Linked DNA regions of Homo sapiens: region 1 is linked to region 2. The links are contacts of gene promoters, found by promoter capture Hi-C in human tissues and cell types (Jung and others, 2019). All regions are on one chromosome and are shown on one strand. The core of a region is centred on a gene start or on the middle of the fragment in contact, and the rest is flanking DNA. Distances in the headings are between cores, read along the strand shown.

Region 1 (2,700 bases), core at 27-2,526, 1.1 Mb after region 2:
TTTCTGCTTTCCCCAGCTTATATCCATCTTCTGCAAAACAAAAAAGGATCTTGTCTTATTTTTTAGTAACAAGTTGCTTATATAGAGTGTTGATTTCTAAGTGTTTTCACATTTATTTAAAATGAATAAAATTTAGTGAGAGTTTGCTCTTCCTGGGCCCTTTGCATTTAACTGTTTTTCCTTAATTGTGGAATAAGAAACTTCATTTTTGTTAAAGGTAATTAAGGCAAGTAGAGAAAGTCTGGGAGTTTAAAGGAGAATTGAAGATTCTTAACTCATGCTGTGCTTATTTGTAAATCTAAGGTGAAGAGTAGTCCTGACTGATTAGAAAGAGGACCAGGTTCTTGAGAAATTCCATTTCCCCACACAAGTTGCCTCTTTGCTGCTTTGGGAAGGAAGTCCTTAGGGCTCACTAGTGGTTGCCATTAGAGGCATGTTGTAGTCACTGAGTAGAACTTGAAACCTGTTTCTGTTTTGGGAAAAGTTTGTCTGGCTCAGCATCTCCTATTATCTCTAAGACTTGCTGATATATATATAAACCCAAGATATATATTACATATAAAATTGTTTTTCTTTAGCCTTTAATGACTTCTGACTTGTTCATCTGGAATTATGGAATGCATTCTTATGCCTGCCTCAGGTTCATTTCACTTCTGTTGATGTTTTGGTAATAAAAATGGTTTGGTGTTAATAGAGGTGTACTCCTAGACTCATTTTTATCAGATTTAATGCTAAGCATAAAACCTGCCTTTCCTTCCTTCCTCCCATTATGACCTCTTTGACCTCCCTTGATCCCTAAATCTGTAGCAGTGTTCTATACTGTAATGTCTGTACAACGTTCTATATTATTAAATAATAGAGACAGTACTTGTACCAGATTTGAATCAACATCTTATGAATTTTAAATTGTCAACACTTGGTACTTTGAAAAGTTGGTCCACTGGCCTAGAATCAACAAGGAGAGGAGGGAAAGAACTTCTCTGCCTGATAATTCAAAATCTAAATTATCCAAGCATCATCACCTGGGATAATAGTAGAGATGACAGTTCATGGACCTCTGGTCCAGACTTTCTGAATTAGAGACGGGGGAGTGAGGCCAGCAAGCAATCTGGTGTTTCTGAAGCATGAAGGTTTGAGAACTACTGGCATAGGTATTAATGGAAAGACCCAACTCTGTGAAAACATTTTAAAGAGGTTTATTCTGAGACAATATGAGTGACCATGGTCTGGGAAACAGTCTCAGGAGGTCCCAAGGAAATGTACCCACTACAGTCGAATTACAGTTTTAGGGAGGCAGGAGTTACAAAGTCATAAATCAATACATGGAAAGTATACATTGTTTCAAACCGAAAAGACACAGAATATCTTGAAGTGAGGACTTAAAGATTTTAGGTGGATTCAGAGATGAGATTCTGTAATTTGCAGTTGGTTTATAGAGTAAAGCTTTGTCTAAAAATTTGGATTCAGCAGAAGGGAATCTTATAAGAAAGTCTGTTAACCAATACACTGGGTTAGAGTGACCTGTAGGGGTGTGTGAGTTAACCCTTGTCTGGCTTGGCCTTAGGTCCTGTTTATAATTTGGTATCTTATTGTCACAAAAAGTCCATTCTGTTAGGTCCTATAATTTCTATTTTAACATTAATGCTGGTCAGTTTTGCCTAAACTCCAGAAGCAGGGGATGGAGAGATAAAATGAGGTGTATCTAGTCTTCCTTCCTGTCCAGGCCAAGAACTCAATTTTTCTAGTTTCTCTGGGGTCTCTGTAGTCAAGAGAGAGTCAGTTCAGTCATTTGGGGGGGATTTTATTTTTAGTTTACAAAAGCAGTGGGAATATCCTTCCAGATTCAGTTTTGTATTTACTCATGTAAAGAGACCTTGTAGTAGCGTAGTTCTGGATGAGTTTTTATGTTTTTATGTTTAGAGGTTCACAGACAGCATGGATCGTGAAAATCTGAACCCCAAATAGGGTGTGAGGAGTGAACCTAAGTTTGAATTCTCACGGGAGAAACCCACTTCCACTCGAAGTCAACACAGAGCAGACATTTCCTTATTGACGTTTCCTTCTCTTTTCCACTGGAATGACTTTTTCTTGTCTTCCTTTTTAAGTGTACTACTTTGGAAATTTTGACTACTTCATGTAGGGGTCTCAGTCATAAGGCCTTATCTTCTATTCCTCTTGAGAGCATCAAAAATACAAATTTGGTCTTCAGTTTTCCTCAGTTTCTGAGTCCTTGATGATTTCCCTTTTTTCCCCTGCATTTAGCACTGCATTTTAAAAGCATGTTTGTTAGCCAGGCGTAATGACTCAACACCTGTAATCCCAGCACTGTGGGAGGCCGAGGTGGAAGGATTGCTTGAGCCCAGGAGTTTGAGACCAAACTGGGCAATATAGTGAGACCTTGTATCTCCAAAATTTTTTTTTAATTAGCTGGTCATGGTGGTGTGCACCTGTAGTCCCAGCTACTTGGGAGACTTAGGTGAGAGCATCTCTTTAGCCCGGGATGTGGAGGTTGCAGTGAGCTGAGATCGTGCCACTGCACTCCAGCCTCAATGACAGAGTGAGACTGTCTTTAAAAAAAAAACAGGCCGGGCGCAGTGGCTCACGCCTGTAATCCCAGCACTTTGGGAGGCCAAGGCGGGCAGATCACCTGAGGTCAGGAGTTCGAGACCAGCCTGACCAACGTGGAGAAACCCCATCTCT
Region 2 (2,700 bases), core at 39-2,538:
TGGCCAGGCTGGTCTCGAACTCCTGATCTCGGGCGATCTGCCCGCCTCAGCCTTCCCAATTGCTGCGATTATAGGCGTGAGCCATCGCGCCCGGCTGGGAGTTCCATTTTTCTGGGAGCTCCTCCAAGACCCTTACCCCCACCCCCAGAAGAACCCAGCTGAGTTCGCGGGCCTGCCTTTGTCTCCAGAGCCACGCAGCGCTCCCAGACACGCTGCGCCGGAGAAGGCAGCTTTCTTCTGCCGTCCTCACCCTAGGAAAGGGGGTTTCTTCCCTGGCCCCAGTGTCCGATGCTCAGGGATCGGGTTCTCCCTCCGAGGGTGCACCTGGAAACCCGAGCGTCGCCCCGGGGCTCGCTTTTTTCAGACCGCGTCCCATACAAGTCCGCGACCCTTCCACGTTTGGGACAGGAGTGGGAGAGCTTAGCGCTTCCTATTTTTTTGTGGGGGGAGTGCAGGTGATTATAAATCTGGGCATGCAGACTACAGGCTTATTTGACCTGCAGCCGAGTGCGGGGCCAAGCGCCGGGCTCCTGGGGCGCCACCGTTTCCAGACGCGCAGCCACCCGGACTGGACGAGGGGCGGGGTCCGACCTAACTGCCATCCGATGGACAGCGTTTTTTATTCGCGGTTTTCACCCTGGACTTTGGCTTAGTTAAACCTAAAGAGCTTTTTGGAATCTTATCTTTCCCAACGTCTATGAAGTGGGAACTCAATCTCCAGCCCTCTACGTGTGTGTGTGTGTGTGTGTTCAGCGAAGGGAATTCACCCCGGAGAAGAGCCCTGGGTCACTAAAGCGCCGGGCACCACGAGGGTGGAAAAATCCTTCAGAACCAGCCAATGGCGGTACGGCCTGCCCTGAGGGCCCGCCTCTCCGGCGCCCTCAGACATCACGCAGTCGTTGTTGTGATTGGCGGATTTAGGCGGAAAGCCCGCTAGCCTAAACCACAGAGGGTTTTGATTGGTTGCAGCGAACAGCCGCATTTCTATAGTCCAAACCTGGAGCAGTTTAGTGATAAATCCCGCCCTAAAAGGCATTTGATAACCGTTTTACATGTTGTAAGGCAAAGGGTGATTGGTCAGAGAGCTCACGGATTCAGTCGGTAGTAAACACAACCAGACTTCAGGGACCGTGGATTGGTCAGTTTTTCCGGGGGCTAAGTAAATTCCTCCAGGTTCCGCGCGCCGGCTGGCTGCACTCCTACCCCGGCCCCGCCCTTCCCATTGCTGATTGGTTGCAGCCCAACTGGGAGAGGCGGAATGGGGCGGAGTAGGCGCTCTTGCATTACGTCACTTCCGCTTATCCTCGGGCGCCGCCGCCGTGTTCTCAGAGTGCTGCGGCGAACTGGCTGGAGGAGCTAGGGGACTAGAGGCGGGGTGGGAGGGGGGCGGGTGGAAGGGGGAGGAAGTCCCGTAACGGAGACGCTGGTCAGGACGTTCCCACCTCCTCTGACACTGCCGAGTCCGATCGGAGAGGGGTCACCGCCTCCTTCAGCGAGGAGGAGGGGGGCGGAGCCCGACTCAGGTGAGGAGACCCCGTCAGCGAGTATCGTGATGGCGGGCGCGCTCACGTGGGGAAGGTTGAGCACCAGGGGCGCGCCAAGGCGTCGGGGAGCGCGCAGACGTGTACTGGTGCCCCCGGACTACTCTGGCTGTCTTTCGGAGGGGAGCATTGTTACCGTTGGAGCCAAGGGGCCAGGCGGGTTCTTCTGCGCAGGCGTCCCCGGTGTCCCGACGCCAGGCTGTCTGCGGGGTGGGGCGGGGGCTGGTACTCCTGTGGATCCCCGGCTGGCGACGTAGGTTCCCGAATGGGGTGGGAAAGGCCTCAGGACCAGCGGCCTGGCGGGATGAAGAGAGGATCTGCTGCCCTGCGGGATGTGGTCGGACGGCTCCCTTGCCCCCATCCTGGGTCTTGAGCGACGAGGTTTCATTTCACCAGAGCAAGGCCATAGGCAGACTGCCATCGGGAGCCAGCGGCCGACCCTGGAGGGGTGGAGCCAGTGTTTCGGAATGCCCCAACTTGTTATGAGAGGACTGAAGTGTTTAATAGGCATTTATTGAATGCCCACTACTCCCAGGCTTCGTGCGAGGAGCTGTGGGGGATGCGGTGGTAAGACACTGCCGTCCCATCTTCTCCTGTTTGGAGGACAGATTTGTATGTAAATAATAAAAGGCAGTGAATTAAGGGGTGTTGAAGGTTAGTTTTTTCCTTTCATAATGGTCATTTTTTTTTAAGTCAGTCAGCATTCTGGCATAGTGAAGGATATTGTGGAAACTAATTTTCTGAACAGAAGGCAAATCCTAAATAATTTGGAGGAAAAATTTTAGGTGAAAGCACAGTAAAGTTGATTACTAAGTAGTATCTTCTGACTCTAGTTAACTTGAATTAATAGAAGGAACTCTTCACCTTCAAAAATTGAAGCAAAAATATTCCAAAACATGTTCTCATATTTTTCACTTGTATTAAGTAGAGGACATTACGGGCTTTTCTTTAGAGGTTGAAGAGAATGCTGTGCCTTAGTCATTAAGTCATTGGTAATTTGTTGTCCTAGTATGGGCTGTTGTGCTTAGATGTAAAAGGCTGGGCAGAACTTGCTTTTCATTTGCCTAAACTCTTGTGATTTCTGTGGGGACGGTGGTTGGCAGTAAGCTAATAGTTCAGAGGGAAAAGTCCAGATGGGAAGAAGACAAGGAATTTTAGA

Evidence for each region. Contacts are between HindIII fragments. The study calls those that stand out against the background at their distance.
Region 1: a contact is called between a fragment that was not itself captured here and the fragment with the promoter of ZBTB5 in region 2, in 1 of the 25 tissues and cell types used here (dorsolateral prefrontal cortex).

The regions. Positions count from the first base shown.
Region 1 is chr9:36,380,383-36,383,082 of GRCh38, reverse strand. All of the region lies in intron 2 of RNF38 (ring finger protein 38), which reads left to right. Among named protein-coding and RNA genes, the nearest start is that of RNF38, 19 kb to the left of the region's middle. The HindIII fragment of the contact is 8,504 bases long and covers 1-2,700 here.
Region 2 is chr9:37,464,038-37,466,737 of GRCh38, reverse strand. ZBTB5 (zinc finger and BTB domain containing 5) reads left to right here and starts at 1,288. Exons shown (of 2, transcript NM_014872.3): 1 at 1,288-1,523. RefSeq lists enhancers at 1-308, 309-994, 995-1,680, 1,681-2,366 and a silencer at 1,361-1,460. The HindIII fragment of the contact is 10,232 bases long and covers 1-2,700 here.